2 separate regions of the Homo sapiens genome follow, and region 2 is linked to region 1. The links are contacts of gene promoters, found by promoter capture Hi-C in human tissues and cell types (Jung and others, 2019). All regions are on one chromosome and are shown on one strand. The core of a region is centred on a gene start or on the middle of the fragment in contact, and the rest is flanking DNA. Distances in the headings are between cores, read along the strand shown. Region 1 holds the start of KHDRBS2 (KH RNA binding domain containing, signal transduction associated 2). Region 2 overlaps KHDRBS2 (KH RNA binding domain containing, signal transduction associated 2).

Region 1 (5,341 bases), core at 1,567-4,066:
ATCATTGTGAAATCTCATTGGTTTATACTACTGCCTTTATATATATTAGCTTCCGGAAAATCATTCTGAAGAACTGAATCATCTGTATCATTTTTACTACTCACTCAGGCTTGACACTGTCTGCACAGTACTGACTGAAATGTACTTTGCACCTTCTTTCCAAATGAATATCTATGTCAGGTTTATTTACAGCCACTCCCTTCAATCAGTGCATTCTCAGGTATGAGAAATAAAATAATCTCAACCATACTCTTCTATAGAGATCTGAAACTAAGCGTGGACATCTTGGCAACTGGCCTTTGGAAAGATAATGAAAGATCTATACCATAAAATATACATTAAGATTATTGAGATTCCAAGAACAATCATCTTACACTCTTTAATTAGCACATGTAAAGAGCCCCAGGTACAGAGAGCTAATATAAAACCTATGCACCCTTTTGCATAACTCTTTAGGTACTCCAAGATTATTATAACCTCCTCCATTCTCTTTTCCTCATTCTGATTTCTCTGAAATTTGGGTAACCTCTTTGTTTCTTACTTAGATGTTTTTCTCTATTTAGGAGCTTTTCCTTCTAATTCTTTACAAAAGCAGGGCATGCTTCCCCCTGCTGGGAAAAAATCAAATTACAAGGTACATCAGAACATGTTCCTAAGTATTATATCAAGAAATCAAGTTCCTAGGAAAGATAAAATGTTAAGGAACCAAGTGCATTCTCTGACTGTTTTACCAGCCACAGAAATACTTATGCACTCTGTTAAGAGTTTCTTGTATGCATTTATTTAGCTTGGCCGTCTTCAAGTACAATAACTCATATTAATGACTGATGAATTAATCTTTGAGCCACTTGTCTCAAATAGAACTCCAATTAGCGGGTCAGAGAGAATGATCAATTTGTAACTTTTTTTTCACTTTAAAGACATATTATAAGCTACATAAAGAAAATTCTGGAAAATATATTGAAGACTATTCAAAATATATTAAAGATACTGAAGACTGGTAAGACTTGCCTTTTAAATCATTTCAAACAATCTTAAACATCTATTAACACATTATTTTGCTATTATTTTTATGTAGTTGTCTTTTTTGGGAAAGTAAAAAAAGTTCGTTTTTATTGACTTTACTTTTCCACTTTAATTTATATTTTTTTTCATTCAGTAACCAAGAAAGTAGTAGGCATAATTGTATTTCACCTTCCCACTTATCTATAAAACTAGCTTTTTCCCTGAAAACAGTTTAGTTATTTCACATGTTCCATGTTTTGAATATAAATCTTTTCCTAATTGTTTAGTATTTAAACATAGAAAAATACCTTACACTTCATTGTTAATATAAATAACAATTCATAAATTAAAAAATATAGCTAATGCCTATTTAAATCATATATTGAGGAGCAGAATTTATTCTTCCTTGGTACAACTAAGTCTCAAAAAAATCTTTTAATACTGAGGAGCTTGGGTAGAGGAAGTTATCCGTTTTAGTTTTTTGCTGTATGTAAGTCCATAACAAACTTAGCTACAAAACTGCATTGTAACCAATTTGATGATGAAGCAATTCATTATTAATGAAGCATTCATCTAAAAAAAATCTGCAGATGTTTTAAAAAGGCATGGGTAAGTAACTACAGATACCATAGGTGTCTTTAGTATTTAGATGGCATTATTATAACATAAATGGAGTAATTCGGTTAATAAAGTTCATGTGTCTTTTTTCAAAAAAAAACCTTTCAAAGCAATGCAAAAAACAAGACATATGTGTTCCTCTAGGAATGAAATCCCCTTTAACATTACAGGTACACAAAAGAAAATGCACACTTGGTAAAACAGTTGATCAATTATAGAGTGTTCCCAGGGACCAATATCTCACAGAGTACCCAATCATCACACTTCAAATAAATGTATAAGCACTTTAGCCTTTACTTACCACATTAACATACATATAAGAACATGCATAGTTTAATGCATAGGTTAATTCTAACACTTTCCATAGGATAGACTTTGATTAAAGGGTATCAAAAATCACTTCCTAAATGCAGCAAAAAATAAAAATAAAAATACCGATCTGTAGCTACGAAGCTCTTAGAACACTACATTGATCACCATTTACTTCCAAACTGCTTTCCCTTCCCTCTGCGAAGTGAAAATGTCCCTGTAGACCGCGTTACATACACTTTATGGTTTCTCTATCAATGATCCTAACAGGTCACATCGCCACTGCCATTAGATCTCCGTAGCTTTGGTCTTCTCCAAATTAAGACGTGGAGAAGGAGCACTGCTGTCCGCCCCAAGAACGGGGTCTGTCCGCCCGAGCTCTAAGGCGAGCATCTTCAGGGGGACAGTTTCTGCGAAGGCGGGGAGAGGAGTCCCTCCCCAACTTCACTCCCCTAATCAAGCCGCGGGTGAGATAGGCAGCCGGCGGTTTGTGCCCATCTGTGGGGGCAAGTCCTACCTTCTGCCAAAAGGCGCGACGCATGCACAAAAGATGGATCCAGGCTATCTTTCTCTGCCATCAGCTCAGGCAAATATTTCTCCTCTTCCATAGCGCGGACTTCGGATTGTCCCCGGGCGAAGCGCGAGGTTCCGCTCGCTCGGACGCAGGCAGGGTCTTGGGGCAGCGCCTGGCTCCCGCGCTGCTCCTCCTCCGCGCGGCGAGGGATCTCTGTGCGTCCTCACTGGCCCATGCACCCAGCACCTGCGACTCCCGCCGTCGGGCTGCGTGGCCCCGCGCCCACACCTGCCCGTCCCTTCCGTCGTCCCTCGCTCGCGCAGAGCCCCGGCTCACACCAGCGGCCTTAACTGGAGAGGCGGGAACAGGACGCGGCCCACCTCCGCCAACCACTCATTGGTGGTGGTGCCAGGAGAGGCGGGGCGCTGGCAGAAGGCCGCGGGCTCTCATTGGGCGGTAGCGCAAGTCGGGTGGCCTGACTGGCAGGAGGCAGCTGCAGAGGGGAAGGGAGCTCGGAAGATGCAAACGCTTTCTTCTTGCGCCCAAGCCTTCCCTGGCTATTAGGCATGCCCAGTTTTGTGGAGTTCTCTGTGTCTTCAGCTAAGGCGCAGAGGAGAGAGAGCGCGGGAAAAGCGCAGGTTAAAGAGAGAGGTCTGAGTACAAGTGGACAGGGGAGATGGAGATGAGAAGTGAGCCACCCGAGAGGGTGGAAAAGCGCCAGGGAAAGTCTCAGGAAGGTAGATGGGACTTCACCTGCGTCCCTAAGGCACAGGTGTCTCCTTTCCCTCACACAGCTCAGGCGCACTCCAGTTGTGCAGGAATCAGCAGCGCACTGGGTCTGGAAATACAATGAAGACTGCATGTGATCGGCAGCTGGTATTTCCGATGACCTACATCTCAGGGACGCAGTAGGATGTTCATTGATAAACAAATAAAGCGGCTCGAAGAAATATTGTGCAGAGACATGATTGAGGTGTACAATCATTAGGATATTGAATTAGTTCTGGTAACCTATCCGTGCCTCCTTTCCCCAGACCCTATCTGTGGAAGGGAGGTTGGGAGGGGCTGAATTTAAAAACCAAAAACAATATGATTCATTAGTCACAGTTTGTGAAAGAATTGGGAAGACATGTAGAAGAAAGAAGAGACTAGAAAATAGGTAACCACGTTTGCTCTAATTTTCCCCTTTCTCCTAGTTTTAGATGTGCCAGTCTCTTTCACCAGGTACTGTTGCTGAGCTACTTTGTATTATCCCACCTCTATTTAAAGGAAAGTTAAACCCTCATGATATCACCAAGCGTGGAGGCAAAGCCCATCCTTCTTTTACCAATGCGGCTATAAAATGTAACTTGCATGCCTCAATCGCTAGGAAACAATCTTTCCCCAAGTCTTGGGTTCTCGTTTCATAAGTAGTCATTTCCTGATTCTTCTCTCCCCCATTATTTTTGGTGTGGAAGAATGAGGGCCAACTTTGCTACAAATAAAATGTGCTGAAATTTTTCCAACTTATCTTACTGTATTTAAATATTTTCCTTTTAATTTTTAGATAAATTCGGGAGATTAACTTTTATTTGTATAATGTTTAAATAACGTAACGTGCCTCACATTGATTATTTCAATACGTCCTCACAGAAGCACTCTGAAAAATGCCAGCCAAGTATTACTTTCTCTGTTTGTATAAATATGGAAACTGAGGCAAAACAGAGAAATCGTCTCATGTCTAGTTAATGCTGAAGTTGAGATTAAAATTCAATTCTATATTAGCACCATTTATATCCAGAATATACTGCTTCAACCTACCTTTCTGTGTGTTATATATTTAATTTATTTGTGCATGTGTGCATTCAACAAATGTTTATTGGATACTGAAAAGAGTCTAGGGACAGTACTTAAAATTGGAGAAACATTGGTGAATAAGATACATACACATTCATTCCTTGTCATCACAAAGATGTTTTCTAATGGGAGAAGATAAATAAAACCAAGTATACAAGAGGAATGGTAATTGTTGACTGCAATAAAGGTCAAGAATGAACCAAGGAGTTAAGAAAGAGAATACAAGGGAAGACATTAGTTTCTTTATTTTTGACTAGGGTAAACATACAATCTCGATAAGCAGCTGATATTTACGGTGAAAACTCATGGAAAAGAATGAACCAAGTGAGTACAATGTGCAAAGAAAGACATTCCAAGCAGGGGAACTTGCCCCTGAAAAAGCCCTGTGGTGGAAAGAACTGTGCTGTCTTTTGGAATTGACTGAGGTCAATGTGACTACTGTAATATGGGAAAGAATGGAATCAATAAGGGAGGGGGGATTGATGTGTACAAACACTGAAGATTTGATGAATGAAAATTATTTGGATTTTATTCTAAGTGTAATAGGGGACCATAAAGTATTGGTATCTTTCTGGATGTGCTTCTTAATCTCTTTCTGATTCTTATGTTACTTTCAAAGGAGCTATTATTTAGAATTGAGTATATATACAGAAAGTTCTTGCTATTTTATCTGTGTGCAGAATGTTTAGTAGTTGAAGGGTCATGCATCCTGCACCTGGTCTGCAACAGGGATATAAAGGGAAAATATGCTTCAAACTTAAAAGAGGTGGCTACGATTTGCTATGGTAGTAAAGGGTGAATACGATGCCAACCACAGGCAAAAAACTGTAAATGTTTTCGAATAAATGTAAATTAGAACAAAATATTTTACAATTACAATAACATTTTGCTTTGCAGCATATCAAGACATTAAAAGCATATGGTGAGGATGGAGACGTGCAGAAACCCAGTTTCATGAATGAAGAAGGTGTAGTAACTCTTATAATGTCCAGCAACAACAACTACTTTATTATTCACAGCCATCTTTTCCATGATTACAGGATTAATAAGAAGATACCA
Region 2 (5,341 bases), core at 1,267-3,766, 420 kb before region 1:
GATATCATTGGTGGGTTTGTCATATATGGCTCTTCTTACTTTGAGGTATCTTACTTCAATACCTAGTTAATTGAGAACACTTAACATAAAGTGAGGTTTAATTTTACTGAAGGCCTTTTCTATATCTATTGAGACAGTCCTGGGGTTTTTGTCTTTAGTTCTGTTTATGTGATGAATCATGTTTATTTATTTGCATATGCTTAACCAACCTTGCGTCCTGAAGATGAAGCTTACTTGATCATGGTAAATAAGCTTTTTTGATATACCGCTGAATTCAGTTTGCCAGCATTTTATTGAGCATTTTGGCATTGATGTTCATCAATGATATCGGTCTCAAGTTTTCCTTTTGGTGATATCTCTGCCAGGTTTTGGTATCAGGATGACGCTGGCCTCATAGAATGGGTTAGGGAGGAATCTCTCTTCTTCAATTTTTTTGGAATAGTTTTAGTAGGACTGGTACCAGCTCTTCTTTGTCCCTCTGGCAATATTCATCTGGTAAGCTATTTATCACTGCCTCAATTTCAAAACTCATTATTGATCTATTCAGAGATTCAATTTCTTCCTGATTCAGTCTTGGGAGGGTGTATGTCTCCTATTTATCCATTTTTTCCTAGATTTTGTTATTTATATGTATAGAGGTGTTATAATATTCTCTGATGGTTGTTTGCATTCCTATGGGGTCAGTGACAATATCCCCCTTACCATTTCTGGTTCTTTTTATTTGAATCTTCTCTCTTTTCTTCTTTATTAGTCCAGCTAGTGGTCTTTTTCCTTATTTTTTCAAAAAACCAACTCCCACATTTGTTGAGCTTTTGAAGGGGTTTTTTTTTTTTTTTGTCTTTCAATCTCCTTCAGTTCAGCTCTGATCTTGGTTATTTCTTTCTTCTGTCAGTGTTAGGGTGCCTTTGCACTTGGTTCTCTAGTTTTTTTAGTTGTGATGTTAGATTATTAACTTGAGATATTTCTAGCTTTTTGATGTGAGCATGCAGTACTATACATTTCCTTCTTAACACTGCTTTTGCTGTATCCGAGAGAATCTGGTATGTTGTATCTTTGTTCTCATTAGTTTCAAAGAACTTCTTGATTTCTGCCTTAATTTCATTATTTACCCAAAAGTCATTCTAGAGCAGGTTGTTCATGTAGTTAAATGGTTTTGAGTGAATACCTTAATCTTGAGCTATAATTTGATTGTACTGTGATCCAAGAGACTGTTTCTAACTATTTTAGTTCTTCTGCATTTGCTGGGGAGTGTTTTACTTCAGATTATGTGGTCAATTTTAGAGTAAGTGCCAATTGGCAATGAGAAGAATATATATTCTGTTGTTTCTGGGTGGAGAGTTCTATAGATATCTATCAGATCCACTTGCTCCAGAGCTGAGTTCAGGTCCTGAATATCTTTGCTAATGTTCAGACTCAATGATCTGTCTAACATTGTTAGTAGGATGTTAAAGTCTCCAACTATTATTGTGTGGTAGTCTAAGTCTCTTTGTAGGTCTCTAAGAACTTGCTTTATGAATGTGGGTGATCCTGTGTTGGGTGAGTGCATATATATTTAAGATAGTTAGGTTTTTTTGTTGAATTGAACTCCTTACTGTTATGTAATTCCCTTCTTTGTCTCCTTTGATCTTTGTTGATTTAAACTTTGTTTTATCAGAAACTGGGATTGCGATCCCTCTTTTTTCCTGTTTTCCATTTTTTCTCCTTCCCTTTATTTTGAGACTATGTGTTTCTTTGAATATGAGATGGGTCTCTTGAAGACAGCATACTGACAGGTCTTGGTTCTTTATCCAGCTTGCCACTCTGTGTCTTTTAATTGGGGCACTTAGGCCATTTACATTTAAGGATAGTATTGTTATATGTGGATTTGATCCTGTCAACATGATGCAAGGTGGTTATTTTTCAGACTTGTTCATATGGTGGCTTCATAGTGTCACTGGTCTGTATACTTCAGCATGTTTTTGTAGTGGCTGGTAATTATTTTTCCATTCCTTTCTTCAGGGTCTCTTGTAAGGAAGGTCTTGTGGCAATGGATTCCCTCAGCATTTGCTTATCTGAAAAGGATCTTATTCCTCCTTTACTTATGAGGCTTAATTTGGCTGGATATAAAATTTGGAGTTGAAATTTCTTTTCTTCAAGAATTTTGAATATTAGCCTCAATCTCTTCTGTCTTTTAGGATTTCCTTGAGAGGTCTGCTGTTAGTCTGATAAGCTTCCCTTTGCAGGTGACCTGGCCTTTCTCTCTGGCTGCCCTTAACATTTTTTCTGTCATTTCATCTTTGGAGAATCTGATGATGATGTGTCTTGGGGATGATCTTCTCATGGAGTATCCTACTGGGGTTCTCTGCATTTCCTGAATTTGAATGCTGTCCTGTCTAGCCAGTTTGGGAAAGTTCTTCTGGATGATATTCTGAAGTATGTTTTCCATTCTCCAATTGCTTCCATTCTTGATTGGTGTCTCTTTCAGGTACACCAATCAGTTGTAGATTTGGTCTCTTTATATAATCCCTTATTTCTAAGAGGTTTTGTTCATTCCTTTTCATTCTTTTTAACTGTTCTTTTCTGCCTGTCTTATTTCAGACAGTCTTCAAGCTCTGAGATTCTTTCCTCTGCTGGGTCTCTTCTGCTATTAATACTTGTGACTGCATTGTGAAGTTCTTGTAGTGTGTTTTTCGGCTCTGTCAGGTCAGTTATGTTCCTCTTTATACTCACTGTTTTGGCTATCAGTACCTGCATTGTTTTATCATGATTCTTAGCATCCTTGTATTGGGTTACAAGGTGCTCCTTTGGTTCAGCAAAGTTCATTTTTATTCACATTCCGAAGCCTACTATATTAGTCTCTTTTCATGCTTCTGAAAAAGATATACTAGAGACTGGAAAGAAAAAGAAGTTTTAATGGACTCACAGTTCCATGTGGCTGGGGAGGCCTCACAATCATGGTGGAAGGCAAGGAGGAGTAAGTCATGTCTTATATGGATAGCAGCAGGCAAAAAGAGAAAGCTTGAGCAGGGGAACTCCTCATTATAAAAACCATCAGATCTCATGAAACTTATTCACTGTCACAAAAACAGCATGGGAAAGACCTCCCACCATGATTCAATTACTTCCCACTGGGTTCTTCCCACAACATGTGGGAATTCAAGATGGCATCTGGGTGGGGACACAGCCAAAACACATCAATCCACCCCTCGTCCCACCCAAATCTCATGTCCTCACATTTCAAAACCAATCCTGCTTTCCCAACAGTCCCCCAAAGTCTTAATTCATTTCAGCATTAACTCAAAAGTCCACAGTCCAAAGTCTCATCTGAGACAAGGCAAGTCTCTTCCATCTATGAGCCTGGGATAAATTGGCCAAAACAAAGGGGCTACAGGCCCCATGCAAGTCCAAAATCTGGTGGGGTAGTCTAATCTTAAAGCTCCAAAATGATCTCCTTTGACTCTATGTCTCATATCCAGGTCACGCTGATGCAAGAGGTGGGCTCCCACAGCCTTGAGCAGCTCCAACCCTGTGGCTTTGCAAGGTAAAGCCTTCCTCCCAGCTGCTTTCACTAACTGGCGTTGTGTGTCTCCAGCTTCCAGGTGCACATTACAAGCTATTGGTGGATCTACTATTCTGGGCTCTGGAGGATGGTGGCCCTCTTCTCACAGTTCCTGGTGGCCCTCTTCTCACAGCTCCACTAGGCAATGTCCCTGTAGGGACTCTGTGTGGGGGCTCCAACCCCACATTTCCCTTCCACACTGCCTTAGCAGAGGTTCTCATGAGAGTCTGCCCCTAAGGCAAACTTCTACCTGGACATTCAGGAGTTTCCATACATCCTGTGAAATCTAGGTGGAGGCTCCCAAGCCCCAATTCTTGACAAATGTGCACCAGCAGTCTCAACACCACGTGGAAGCTGCCAAGGTTTGAGGCTTGCACACTCTGAGGCCACGGTCCGAGCTCTATGTCGGCCCCTTTCAGCCATGGTTGGAGCAGCTCGGATGCAGGGCACCAAGTCCCTAGGCTGCACACAACATGGGGACACTGGCCCTCTGGGCCTGTGATGGAAGGGGCTGCTGTGAAAACCTCTGACATGCTCTGGAGATATTTTTTCACATTGTCTTGGTGATTAACATTTGGCTCCTCACTACTTATGTAAATTTCTGCAGCCAGCTTAAATTTCTCTTCAGAAAATGGGATTTTCTTTTCTATCACATTATCAGGTTGCAACTTTTGTGAATTTCTGTGCTCTGCTTCTCTTATAAATCTGAATGCCTTTAACAGCACCAAAGTCACATCTTGAATGCTTTGCTGCTTAGAAATTTCTTCTGCCAAATGCCCTAAATCATCTCTCTCAAGTTCAAAGTTCCACAAATATTTAGAGCAGGGGCAAAATGCTGCCAGTCTCTTTGCTAAAACATAACAAGAGTCACCTTTGCTCCAGTTTCCAACAAGTTCCTAATTTCCATCTGAGATAATCTCAGCCTGGACTTTATTGTCGATATCGCTATCAGCATTTTGGACAAAGCTATTCAACAAGTCTCTAGAAAGTTCCAAACTTTCCCACATTTTCCTATCTTCTTCTGAGCCCTCCAAACTGTTCCAACCACTGCCTGTTACCCAGTTCCAAAGTCACTTCCACATTTTCAGGTATCTTTTCAGCAGAGCCCCACTCTACTGGTACCAATTTACTGTATTAGTCCATTTTCAATGTGCTGATAAAGAGGTACCTAAGACTGGGATGAAAAATAGGTTTAATGGATTCACACTTCCACGTGCCAGGGGAGGCCTCATAATCATGGCCAAGGGCAAGGAGGAACAAGTCATGTCTTACATGTATGGCAGCAGGCAAAAAGAGAGAGCTTGTGCAGGTGAACTAAAGCCATGAGATCTCGTGAAACTTACTATCATGAGAACAGCATGAAAAAGCCATGCCCCTCATGATTCAATTACCTCCCACCATGTGCCTTCCACAACATGTGGGAATTCAAGATGAGATTTCGGTGGGGACACAGCCAAACCCTATCACTTACTTCTGTCATTTCAGCTGTCTCAGCCTCAGCCCAGTTCTGAACTCTTGCTAGGGAGGTGTGGTCATTTGGAGGGAAGGCGGCACTATGACTTTTTGAGTTTTCAGTGGTTTTGCACTAATCCTATCTCATCTTTGTGGGCTTATCTGCCTTCCATCTTTGATGTTGCTGATCTTTGGATGGGGTTTTTTGTTTGCTTGTTTGCTTGTTTTTGTGTTGTTTGTTTGGCTTTTAACAGTCTGTCCACTCTTCCATAGGGCTGCTGCCGTTTGCTGGCCATCTGCTCTAGACCTTAGTCACCGCAGCTTTTCCAGTACTTGGAGGTATCACTGGTG

Evidence for each region. The method cuts DNA at HindIII sites, captures the fragments that hold promoters and counts their contacts. A contact is called where the count stands out against the background at its distance.
Region 2: a contact is called between a fragment that was not itself captured here and the fragment with the promoter of KHDRBS2 in region 1, in 1 of the 25 tissues and cell types used here (dorsolateral prefrontal cortex).

What each region holds. Positions count from the first base shown.
Region 1 is chr6:62,283,409-62,288,749 of GRCh38, forward strand. It overlaps KHDRBS2 (KH RNA binding domain containing, signal transduction associated 2), which reads right to left and starts at 2,817. Exons shown (of 9, transcript NM_152688.4): 1 at 2,450-2,817. The coding sequence starts at 2,540. RefSeq lists a silencer at 2,677-2,766. The HindIII fragment of the contact is 10,192 bases long and covers 1-5,341 here.
Region 2 is chr6:61,862,439-61,867,779 of GRCh38, forward strand. All of the region lies in intron 6 of KHDRBS2 (KH RNA binding domain containing, signal transduction associated 2), which reads right to left. Among named protein-coding and RNA genes, the nearest start is that of KHDRBS2, 420 kb to the right of the region's middle. The HindIII fragment of the contact is 4,552 bases long and covers 241-4,792 here.